2 separate regions of the Homo sapiens genome follow, and region 2 is linked to region 1. The links are contacts of gene promoters, found by promoter capture Hi-C in human tissues and cell types (Jung and others, 2019). All regions are on one chromosome and are shown on one strand. Each heading gives the region's core, a stretch centred on a gene start or on the middle of the fragment in contact. The rest is flanking DNA. Distances are from core to core; before and after follow the strand shown.

The links. The method cuts DNA at HindIII sites, captures the fragments that hold promoters and counts their contacts. A contact is called where the count stands out against the background at its distance.
Region 2: a contact is called between the fragment with the promoter of SNCG here and the fragment with the promoter of OPN4 in region 1, in 1 of the 25 tissues and cell types used here (adrenal gland).

The regions. Positions count from the first base shown.
Region 1 is chr10:86,653,254-86,659,123 of GRCh38, reverse strand. OPN4 (opsin 4) reads right to left here and starts at 4,577. Exons shown (of 10, transcript NM_033282.4): 1 at 4,197-4,577; 2 at 2,824-2,969; 3 at 959-1,092; 4 at 437-640. The coding sequence starts at 4,340. LOC105378409 (a long non-coding RNA gene) reads left to right here. Exons shown (of 3, transcript XR_001747526.2): 3 at 830-970. The HindIII fragment of the contact is 7,074 bases long and covers 1,183-5,870 here.
Region 2 is chr10:86,954,046-86,960,295 of GRCh38, reverse strand. SNCG (synuclein gamma) reads right to left here and starts at 1,697. Exons shown (of 5, transcript NM_003087.3): 1 at 1,478-1,697; 2 at 622-663; 3 at 168-295. The coding sequence starts at 1,598. It overlaps MMRN2 (multimerin 2), which reads left to right and starts at 2,681. Exons shown (of 7, transcript NM_024756.3): 1 at 2,681-2,918. The coding sequence starts at 2,755. RefSeq lists enhancers at 808-1,407, 4,410-5,009, 5,670-5,964, 5,611-6,210. The HindIII fragment of the contact is 6,431 bases long and covers 1-5,189 here.

The sequences.
Region 1 (5,870 bases), core at 3,328-5,827:
GCCTCCCATTCCTGCTAGATTTGAGCAGAAAGCTCACCATAACTTCAAGGTTTTGCTTGCCAGGGCTTCAGCCAGAGGCCTGGTCTTACCCCAGGAGGGCTACTACCTTGCTCTCCACCGTTCCACCTTCAGAGTCCTCACACCCCAGCCCCCTGCCTAGTCTGACACAGCATCAGAAGTACCTGTCACTTTGCCCCGCCCAGAAAGCCTTTGTATTTTGGGATCAGTTGCCCAGGAGATCCTTTGGCCCCTGATGGGGCAGTGTCAGTTTCCCTTGCTGCCAGTCATGTCCCCTGAATGTCCATCTCACCTGAGGCTCAGGTAGCTCCTGGGCACCCTGCTCCCGCCAGCTGGCTGACCCAAGTCCACCTACTTCCCCTTGAATGTGCCCCTCCCAGCCCATCTGCCCCCCTTCCAGTTCCAGCAGCCCACTTACTCCAGCCGAAGAAGGGTGGCAGACTCCAGGCCAGGGCATAGAGCCAAACGCCCAGCAGGACAAATGCCGCACGCCTCTTGGACGCCACACCAAAGGTGGCCAGCGGGCGTGTGATTACCAGGTAGCGGTCCAGGGCGATGGCCGTCAGGGTGATCATGGAGGAAATGCCAAAGAGAGCTCCACAGAAGGCATAGAACTCGCAGCCTGTGGGCACAGCCCCTGCTCTGAGTCCTGGGGAGGAGGGTCTGGGGACAGGGTAGACTCTGCTCTGGCCTTCACCTCACAGGAAGAGCAGGACTGAGCGCACTCCACCCCCTCCACCTGCCACATCTGGCCAAGGCTGGCAGAGGCCTTAGGACCAACACTGCATCTTCCCTTCTTGCTTACTCACAGGACTGAGGGCAGCTACCCACTCTCTGCCCAGAAGCAGCAAATCACCTCCTTTGGGCCACCCTCCATTGAGGGCATCCCCAGGTCAAAACCCTCCTCCTCCCTCCAGCAAAAGGGAGCCCCAGCATCTACCTGTCTCCCCAAAGAGCCACTGCTTATAGAGGCTACTGGTGAAGAAGACAGGGGCCTGGGTGAAGGACATGAGGAAGTCGCTGACCGCGAGGTTGATAATGAACATGTTGGCAGGTGTCCGGAGGCTTCTGCTCCTGGGAGGATCAGAAGCTGTTAGGAGGCGCTTCCTGACACCTCCAGAGCTATGGAGAGCTTCCCGCACCCCTCAGGTATGCATGTGCACACACGTGCCACACACTTACACATGCACACACACATGGGCAAGCAAACAGGCACGAGCTGCCGGGCCACAGAGCTATCCCACTGTCGGGCAGGGACCAGCCAAGCAGCTGTTGAACCCAGCAGTGTCTGCTGAGTGAGGACCCCAAGACGGCTCCCTCAGAGAGAAGCAGGGGGCAGTTTCTCTCCAAAACCTGAGGCGTGGCCCAGCGCAGGCCGGTTCTTGGGTCATGTCCGTTTCCTCTTCTTGCCCTCTAAATTCCTCTGCACGACTCACACCATTTCCTTGACCAATTCACTGGTTTCCTTGAGTCCCTCTAGGCCAAGGTCTCCCTAGAGGTTTCTCCCTAGGTTCCTCCTCCTGCGTGCCCTGACTGTGCTTTCCCATGGCTTCTCACGCTTCCCTCCTCCGCGGGTCCCCCTCCCACTCTCCCTCCAGTGTCACGTCCTGCCTGGACCCTGCCCTGCACACTGTCTCTGTAATCCTCATGCTTGGGGATGGCCAAGGGCAGAGGAGCTGATGGCTGTGCACCACGGCCGGGCCAGGCACTTTCACCAGCCTCGGCTCCTGTCATCATCCATCTTTGCATCTACCCTGAGGGAGGCGTCATTGTCCCCATTTTCCAGACAAGATGCTCCCACTCATGAAGTGACTTGCTCCGGTGCACAGCACTCAGTAAGTGGCTCATCTGTGGGGCAACGCACATCCGTGAACTTACTGCATCATCACAGTGACTCCACGAAGCACAGCTCTGTTTTGCGGAAAGAAAAGTGAGCTCAAGGAGGAGAAATGACGTGCCCAGTCCTTCAGCTGGCAGGTGGGAGAGCCAGGGGGCTGTGTGGCCCTGCAGCCTGGGTTCCCTTCTCCACCTGCCTGTCTCAGCCACTGAGCCAGGCAGGGGGGCAGATGGAGAGGGACACTGGGGGTGGGTGTCAGGGGTGTTTGAGGGACTTGAGGATGCTGGTCCCCAGGGCTGCTCTTTTTTTTTTTTTTTTTTTTTTGAGATGGAGTCTTGTTCTGTTGCCCAGGCTAGAGTGCAGTGGCATGATCTCGGTTCACTGCAAACTCCGCCTCCCAGGTTTAGGCGATTTTCCTGCCTCAGCCTCCCAAGCAGCTTGGATTATAGGCACACACCACCACACCTGGCTAATTTTTGTATTTTTAGTAGAGACGGGGGTTTCACCACATTGGCCAGGCTGGTCTCGAACCCTGATCTCAGGTGATCTGCTCGCCTTGGCCTCCCAAAGTGCTGGGATTACAGGCGGGAGCCACCACGCCTGGCCTAGAGCTGCTCTTCAACGCAGGGGGAGGATGCTCTCTGGGGCAGGTGACGGAGAGGTGCGCTGAGAGCAGGGCAGAATGGTCAGAGACCCACATACTCTGGGCACACACACCCTCCACAGAGGATGCACCTGGGTCTCAATTAGTGCCAGTCAGTCAAGTCTCCCTGGACCATTTTTGGCCCTTTCCGTGACCTTCAGGAAGGTCTGGGCCTGAGATCATCGAAGGCATGGCCCTGCCCTCCTTGCCTAGCCTCAACAGTGCCCTGGCCAGAGCTAGAGTCAACATTCCTGCCTGCATTTTCTTCCCTGTCTGCATGGCTGCCACCCTCAGTGCCCTGGGCCCAGCACCACCAACCAGGCACCTGCAGAAGGTATAGATGACCGTCAGGTTGCCCAGCATCCCCGTGAGTCCCACCAGCAAGATCACTGTGCCCAGGGTATAGTGGGCATGGTCTGGAACATCAACCGTGGGGAGGGGGACCCAGGCAGCAGCCCAAGTCCCAGGTGCCTGCGGAGAGACAGAGAAACGAGGGAATCATGTTATCGCTTGTCACCTTCAAATAGTCCTGAGAAGGAAGAGTTAGGATTCTCAACAGGGCAGGTGGGAAAACTGAGGCTCAGAGTGGCAAAGCCAGTTGCACACACAGCTCACAAGTGGCCAAAAGCAGAAGGGAAGTGCAGGTCCTTTCTAAAGTCCAGCCCAAGCTCCTAGAACATGGCACAGGGGCCTTCTAGGAGTGGGCTCAGATCACCTGCTGGAGGCTGGTAGGACAGACAGACATGTGACTGGCAAGCAGGGACATGGCCCTGGTCACCCTATCTTTCCTTAGGGAGAAGACAGAGCCAACTCCTGGGTGCATCCCTGCCTGCAGTATGGACTCCAGCCCAAGGGCCCAAGACAGTTTTTGAGGCCTCTAGACGCTGGGGTGGTGAGTCGGGTGGAGCCCCTCTCAAGAGTCCCGTCCCCTACTGAGCCTTAGAGGAGAAGCTGCATTGCCCAATAGCATAGCTGGGTACAGCTAACCTTGATGCCTGGCATGAAAATGAAGGGAATTCCCTTTAGAAAGAAAGCTTAGGCCTCCCAGGGTCACTGAAGGGAGGTCATGACCATATCAGGTCAGGACAAAGGGATTTAAAGACTCCTCCCACCCTAACCCCTTTCTGGGGAAGAGAGGGTGGCTTGGTCTCTGTCCTGCCGCAGTGGCCCCTATAGCTACCGGAGCCTTCCCATCCTGTCCAGCACCTGGGCCAGCATCCCCAGGTCCTGAGGGTGCCCTCGGCCTTCCCCAGGTAGCAGTGGTGTTGATGGAATATGGCCCTGGGCCTGGGCTAGGATGATGGAGGTGGCAGAAGGCACCCAAGGCTTCACTGTGGGCTTGGCAGATCCAGAGGCCCAGGGTGTGCCCTCCTCCCTGGAGGGCTCCATGGGGCATCCGAGCAACCTCTGAAAGGAATGAGTGCAGCCAAGGACAGGTCTGGCCATTCCAGCCCCTTGTCCTCAGGGCTGGCATTTCTGTTCCTTGAATGCTCTCCATGAGGAAGGACATTGCCTGCACCCTCCTCTATCAGCCTGTTTATCAGGGGCGGGCTCAGAGAGGTCCAGTAATGGCTCAAGGCCCCACAGCAGAGTTCAGACCTTTTCTATCTCCCTGTCAAAGCCCCTGTGTGTGGCCAGGAGGGGACCAGGAAGGGGTCAGGGAAGGCTCTGTGCATGCACATGCTCGCCCAGGCTTACTGTGGGACTGATGGATGGAAGCCGGCCCAGGCTGGAGATGCTGCTCTGGGAGCTGTCCCACCAGCTGGGTGGTGCTGGGGTGGCCATGCAGCTGGGCTCTTGGGTTGGGCTGGGCGGGACTCTTGGCCCCGAAGGAGGGTTCATCCTGAGTTGGGATGGTCCTTGCTCGAGCCCACAGAGAAGTCAAGGGCACAGGGAGCTCAGGACTTCAGCTGTGCTCAGCCTCCCAACTTTCCTCCATCCTCAGCACCCCTGCTTAGCCTACCCGCTGCTTTCTCCTGTGTCCGGCGCAGATCCAGCCTGGAGCTGCTCTTGGGGCTGGCGGTTGCTCTGTGTCTGGTGAAGCGCAAATGAGTGAGTGTCGCAGTTATGGTGACTCACAGCCACAGAGTTCATCCCCATCTTTATATAGCGATGTGGGAGCTGCACATGCTCAGTCGCTCCATGCCGCCAGCTCACTCAGACCAAGGTCTCTGGGTGTCTATCTACGAAGGTCTGATGATGGTGGCGTGAATGTGTATGTGTGAGTGTGTGTGTGTGTGTGTGTGTGTTTCAAGGGAGACTTCTGGAATGATGGTGGCATGAATGTGTGTGTGAGTGTGTGTGTTTCAAGGGAGATTTCTGGATGATGGTGGTGTGAATGTGAGTGTGTGTGAGTGTGTGTGTGTGAGTGTGTGAAAGTGTGTGTTTCAAAGGAGACTTCTGGGATGATGGCGTAAATGTGTATGTGAGTGTGTATGTGTTTCAAGGGAGATTTCTGGGATGGTGTCATGAATGTGTGCGTGTGTGTGTGTGTGTGTGTGAGGGTTCGTGAGTGTGTGTGTTTCAAGGAAGATTTCTGGGATGGTGTTGGGAATGTGTGTGAGTGTGTGTGTGTGTGAGTGTGTATGTGTTTCAAGGGAGATTTCTGGGATGATGGTGGTGTGAATGTGTATGTGTGTGAGTGTGTGTGTTTCAAGGGAGATTTCTGAGCTGACAGTGGTGTCAATGTGTGAGTGTGTGTGCATGTGAGTGTGTGTGAGTGTGAGTGAGTGAGAGCATGTGTGTGTGTGAGAGTGTGTGTGAGAGTGTGTGTTTCAAGGGAGATTCCTGGGCTCGGGCTCTTGGACATTGGGCAGAAGGCTGTGTCCTCTCCTTTGACCAGTCTCTGTTGTGTTTCTTCCCTGAGCTCATCAAGAGCAGCCTCAGCCATCCCAAGAGCCCCCAGAGCTGTTTGTGGGCAGCTGAGCCTGTGCAGCCCAGCCTCACCCTTGTCACAGTGGGCCCTACCACCATGTTTGGCCCCCATGAGCCATGGCATTTTCACAGTCACCCTGCATAGAACCAAGGCTGGTCACCCTTTCACAGATGGAGACACAAGGAGGATGTAGCAGTAGGGTGAGATCAGATCACGAGGCGGCTTTTGCTTGTTTTTTGATAAGAAAGTTTTATTTTTTTATTTTTATTTTTTTTGAGACAGTCTTGCTCTGTCACCCAGCCTGGAGTGCAATGGTGCAATCTCAGCTCACTGCAACTTCCGCCTCCCAGGTCCAAGCAATTCTCCTGCCTCAGCCTCCCGAGTAGCTGGGATTACAGGCACTCGCCACCACACCTGGCTAATTTTTGTATATTTAGCAGAGGCAGGAGTTCACCATGTTGGCCAGGCTAGTCTCGAACTCCTGACCTCAGGTGATC
Region 2 (6,250 bases), core at 448-2,947, 300 kb before region 1:
CAAGCATGGACCCCACCCCATGCCGGCGCTCAGTGGGTACTGAAACTGAAGCCAGCCGCAGCCCCCCGTGTTGTTTCCTGGGGTGTGGAGTGGAGTGATGCCGCCTCCGCCCAGCAGCCTTTCTGGGCCCAGGAGAGGACTGGGCAGGTCTGAGGGCCGGGGCTCACCTTGCGCACCACCCCGGAGGTGACCGCGATGTTCTCCGCCTCCTCCACGGTCTTGGTGGCCACAGTGTTGACGCTGCTCACCACAGCCTCGCTCACGGCGTTGGCCTGCTCCTTGGTCTTCTCGGCCACTATGGGAGGACACTGGCTGGCCTCCACCCCAGCCCCAGCCCCAAGGCAGGCCTGCTGGAGTCAGGCTCGCAGCCCCTTCCCAGGAGCTCAGAGCCCTGGCCCTGCTGGGACCCTCCCCTGCTCCCTCTGACTCCAGGGCACCTCTGATGCTGGTGGGGGTAAGGAGACGCCCACCCTAGTTTAGCCTCATGGTCTGCAGGGGTCTGTAGGGCTTGGGACCCCAGTTGGGGGTAAGGCAGGACTCTAGGTTTGAGCCCCAGCACTAGGATGCAGGAGCCCCAGGGGTCCTATCCCCCATGTGTCCCCTGGCCCTGGGGCTTCTCACCTGAGGTCACGCTCTGTACAACATTCTCCTTGGTCTTGGCTCCTGGGGAGGAAATGGAGCTGTCAGCCCAGACCTCCCTCGAGGTGTTGGGGGCGGTCAGGACAAACACAACAGAACAGCTGGACAAACTGTGGGGTCGGTGGGGGGGTAAGGATGGTGTCTGGGGGCCGGCGGCCCCTTCAGAGGGCCTCTTCCTGCTGTGTCTGGAAGAAGTGGATGGATGGGAAGGGGACAGGACAGAATGTGGGGGACAAGAGAGAGCAGGCCTGAGGTAGGGACACTGGCTAGACCCAGGGTCCAGCCCCTGCCCGGGTGTGGCCGGGCCTCAGAAGCAGCAACAGGACAGGATGGGCCAGAGCTGAGTCATTGGCTTGACCTCCCCTTCCTCCTCTGGAGAGTGCCAGGAGAGGATGCGGGGGAGGGAACACTGAGCCTAGGTTTCATCCCCCAGCCTGCCCCTTCTCTCTGGGGAGGGAGGGGATCCGTGACCTGGCTGTAGCCGCTCCCGTGTGGAGAGGGTGGGGGCCACCTGAGCACAGGCTGCTCATGGCTTCAGGGGCTCCAGGCTCAGGGGAGGCTGGTATGCTTGGGAATGTGTGTGTGCGTGCACAGACAGGTAGCCAGCCCTGTCTGCGGTCTCTGACACCCAGAGGCCCCGAGGAGGCCAAAGACAAACACACATAGGTGTGCACAGGGCATTGTGGGTGCTCCAGGGTCTGGAGACCCCACCTTGATAGCCAGGGCCTCGCCCCCTCCCAAAATGCCTCCCTGGGGCTGGGGAGTAAGGTCTGGCGAAGGTAACTGGGCACTCACCCTTTGGCCACCACACTGTCCCACCCTGCCATGCCCCACTTACCCACATACATGACCCCCTCCTTGGTCTTCTCAGCTGCTTCCGTCACCCCCTGCTTGGTCTTTTCCACCGCACCCACCACGCCCTCCTTGGCGATGGAGAAGCCCTTCTTGAAGACATCCATGGTGGGTGTGCAGGGTTGTGCTGCTGCAGGCAGGACGGAGCTGGATCTCCCTGCGAGCTGCGGGCTTGAGCTGGCTCGAGTGCTGCCGCAGCGGCTGTCCCCGATGCCTCCTATTGACGCCGATGAAATATTGATGCGGAGGCCAGCTGGAGCCCAGCCAGCCCTGCGTGCAGTGGGGGCGGGGAGGGAGGGAGGGAGGGAAGGAGGTTCAGCCTCACCTTCCTCCAGGATAGGAAGGCAGAGACCAGGCTCCCTGGGCTCCTGCTGGCTCAGCCCAGCTCTCCTGCCCCGTGCCCTCCATGGGCTGGAGGGGGCTGGCCACCTCCCAACCTGTCCCTCATTCATTTACTGCCCTGCCCACCCATGGGGGCAGCCCTGGCTGGGTGCTCTTGGCCCCAGGGGTGCTGTGTCTATGCTGCACCTGGACAGACAGGCACAGAGAGGGGAGGCGCCTTGGCCATTGTCCCCAGCTTCCTAGGTAGGGGTCAGGGCCACATAGGCCTGTTAGGTGAGAGCAGCCAACCTCCCGCGGCCTGGGCTGTGCAGCTACCCACCAGCATCCTGGATGCCGCTGGACCCTGGGCTGCCATGAAACCGGTTGGAGGATCTGAGGTGGGTGGGGGTGGGGAAATGAAGGACTTCCTCATGCCTTGGCCTCTGGCTGCATGCTGTGTGACCCCAGAATAGTCCCTTCCCTTCTTTGAGCCGCCCAGTGCTGAAGGTGCTGAGGAGGCATGAATTGCCCCCCATTTCCTGGCCAGCAGTGTGGATGGGCAGCAGGTCCCCTGAGATGGACCTGACCACTTCCTGTGGCCCCACCTCGAAGTCCACGCTCTTTTCATGGCTCCCAGGGAGCAGGTTCCCATAAGGATGCATTTGGTGGGGCCACCCCATGTCTACCACATTCCCAGAGTCCCTGAGCCAAGTCCTCAGGGACAGGAACTGGCTTGTGTGGTTGGCGGCCCCTGTGGGGCCAGCCAGGGTAGTTGGGGGGCAGGACAAGACCCACCGGGTAGGCCGGCCCAGGCCACTTCCTCTCTTTGTTGTCCTCGTATTTTCTTTTCCTCCTGAGATTTAACTTGAAGACAACGTCACTAGCAGTTTCTGGAGCTACTTGCCAAGGCTGAGTGTGAGCTGAGCCTGCCCCACCACCAAGATGATCCTGAGCTTGCTGTTCAGCCTTGGGGGCCCCCTGGGCTGGGGGCTGCTGGGGGCATGGGCCCAGGCTTCCAGTACTAGCCTCTCTGATCTGCAGAGCTCCAGGACACCTGGGGTCTGGAAGGCAGAGGCTGAGGACACCGGCAAGGACCCCGTAGGACGGTAAGAGGGCCTGGACCTTGGCAGAGGTCATGGAGTAGGATCTGAGTCCCAGCTCAGCTAGAGCAGAGCCTCTCTAGACCTCACTGGGGTCCCATCTGTGAAATGGGCTAATAGTATCTATCTCTGGGCCATCTGTGAGGCTGAAAAAGTAGTCTGGACTGGGTGTTTCAGGATCCACCTAAGAATTGCAGGGAGTTCCCTGTCGGAGCCATGGCAGGGAATGGGGCTTGGGGGGCTGGCAGGGAGGCACAGCTCCTACCATCAATCACCCAGCATGGGGCACTGGGGGACTGTGGCTGAAGCCATTGCCAGCTGGCCTGGCTATGCCTCCTGTTCTTCCAAAGAAATCAATTCTGAAAGCTGAGACCCAGCAAGGCTGCCCTGAGATTTTGATCTGAGTTCCCTGGGGACCTGACTCTGACTGCCCAGCAGTGAGCAGAGACGGCCCCCTGCTCTCCAGAGCACAGTCCAGGGCGCTCTGCCTCAGCGACCCAGCAAGTGGGCAGGATGGTCTTGCAACTGGACCCAGAACATAGCTTTCCAACATTCTATGTGTACAGAGCCAGGGCCCATCCTGCTGATGAGGTGTTGGGCCTGTAAGTCCCCCCTCATCTCCAACTGCCCCTCAGTCAGAGCAGCAGGTGCTGTTTACGGGGCCCCCAGTCTCAGGGCCAGGCACCTTGCCACGTGTATCTCAGTTCATCCCTCCAACAGCCCCACTTACAGAGGAGGAGCCTGAGGCTCAGAGAGGCTGAGGGGCTTGCCCAAGGCCACACAGCTAAGGAGCAGGATCTGAGTTTGACTTCAGAGCTCATAGTGAACTCTCTGCAGCACTTGGAGCCAGCCCCAGCCCCCAGATGCTCCTACCTCCACCCTCCTGCCCCCACACACCAGACCTGTTTGGCTAAGGGCATCTACATGGATTTAGGGAGTGAGGGGGGGGCCAACTTACACTTCTGTGCGGTGTATGAGAGCCACCATCGCAGAGCGGACCTGCCTGGGATAGGTCTCATTTGGCTTCTGAGTTGCAGGTTTGTTGGGTGCTTTCCTGAAAACAGATTTGACCAGGGAGGGGCAAGAGGCCCCTTAGTGAGGGTCTGGTGGCAGTGGCGTGGGGAACAGTGGCTGAGCAGTTGGCCATGGAGAAACCTCATTCCCGCCTGCCCCCAACTCTGCTCAGGGCTGGGAGGTGCAGGTGATTCTCGGTGGTGGGGCGGCAAGGGGAGCAGGGGGCGGGGGAGGGGCGGGCTGGATCCAGCCACTCCGCTCTGATTTCAGGACCAAGGAAGCTCCACGCCTTAGTCTCAGGCCACCTTCCGCCTTTTGATGAAAGGGAGGATGAGAGGACCCGGTGGACGGGAGGGAGGAGGGAGCTGCTCCTCTTCCTCCCCACCCCCTTGGTTGTGGGAGAGACATTGCTCCCTTAGCCCCAAGGAGTGAGGGTTTGGGAACTGCTGATGGGCAGCCCTGCAGGGGCCCCGCAGTCCTTCTCTGGGGTTCTGAGTGGGAGGGTGCATGTACCTGGCCCAGGAATGCCCAGGTGTCCCAAGCCTGGAAGCCCCCTGCCTGCAGGGCTCTCCTTCCCACATCCAGAAGCTGCAGTCTCCACAGGGCAAGTCCATGCTCTCTCACCAAACCCGGATGGGCTGGTGAGAAAGGAAGGAAACGCGCGGCTTCCTGGGCTGATTACTTCCCTTGCTCCTGTGACCAGGGAGGTGGAAGCGTGCTCCAGACCCTGTCCCTGCAGCATGGGAAGGGGAGGCAGACTGGGTTCTGCTAGCAGGGGTGGTGACACCAACACCATCACAAGGAGGCTCGGCTGCCAGGGCCAGGCATTCTGCCCTGCCTTTGCCACTTACATCTGTTTCCAGAGCCCCAGGGCTAGGCTGGGCCCAGGATGCAGGCCCCAATAAGACCCTTTGCAAGGAGAAGCTTGAATAGAACCACTACGTCCTCAGACTTCCCTGAGGTGGAGAAGCGAAGGGGTTAACTGCTTCTTAGGTTGCCAGGGACCCCGAGGGGCCCAGCCCAGGGAGCCAGCAGCCTGAGCATTAGGACTCCGGGAGGAAGAGGCTGTTTCTGTGCCCTGGCTTGGGGATGTCTAGAATGTGGGTGCCTCAGACCCAGGATTTGCTGTCCCAGTGGAACTCAGTCTGCGGTAGGGACCGTGCTGAGCCCCAGGCAAGGTGTCCCATCTATCACATTGCTATGATAGCTTGGAGGGGTGGGGACGCCTCCCAGGGCCACAGAGCTCCTAAGTGACAGTGAGAGCCCAGGCCCACCCAGGCTGTCCTGTCCCCCCAAGAGGGTGGCCGTGTAGGGGATGCTGCTGCCAGCAGGCTGGTTGGCCCCAGTCACCAGCCTCAGGCTTCTCCTGACCCTTACACAAAGAGCACTGAGATTTTCCCAGCTGGGAGCTTGTGGCCCAGAGGAGTCCAGCATATGACTGGAGGTCACACAGGAGCAGGGCAGAGCACAGGCCGCCTTCTCTGGGCCACGATGCACCTTTTGCACTTGTTCCTCCCCCATCCTCACCCCCACCCCCGACCCCTGCCGGGCACAGAGCCCTTGGTATGAACAGGGAAGAACCCCCACTGGCCAGAGCTGAAGCTTCCAGAACCACGCTCAGGGGTTCTTAGCTCTGGGCTGATCCCTGAGAGCCTCAGGCTTCTCTGCCAAGGCCCTTTTCTGACTCAAGGACAAAATCCTGTGAGTTTCTCCCCTGGAATGGTCAAGTTAATGGCTGGCTTCAGGGCCTCAGAAAACAAGGCTGCTGAGAACACGCCTTCCTTCCCAAGGAAGACTTGAGGGCCCCTGGGAGGGCGTTTCCTGGCTGGGGAAGGGAAGGCACTCCACACAATCTGCATAATGGATGCGCCCTCCCCCTCCCACAGGCTCCCTCTCCCTTCCCCCCACACCAGCTCTGATCTGTGTGCCGCAGAGGCACAGCTTCTTCGCATTTCGATGATGGGGGAAGGGCCTTGCCCAAGGTCACTGTGGGTTCAGGGAGGAGGAGGAGAGGAGAACGCAGGCCGCCCAGCTTCCATTTAAAGCTCCAAAGGAGTCCACGTACCCTCCTATCTGGGTGGAGCAGCAGGTTGGGGCCACAGCAGACCAAGGGCAGCTCCAAACCAGGCCAGAGGAGCCCCACATCCACTCTGGGTTGGCCACTGGGAGATGAGGGCACCCAGCAGGACTCCCCAAGGGAGGGCACAAAGATGAAGCCAGCCTGAGACGGAGGGGCAGAGGGAAAAATGGGCACTTCAGCAAGTTGGGCCGGGGGCATGGGCATCAAGGGCCAGCCAGAAGCTGCCAAGAGCTGGAGGAAGCCA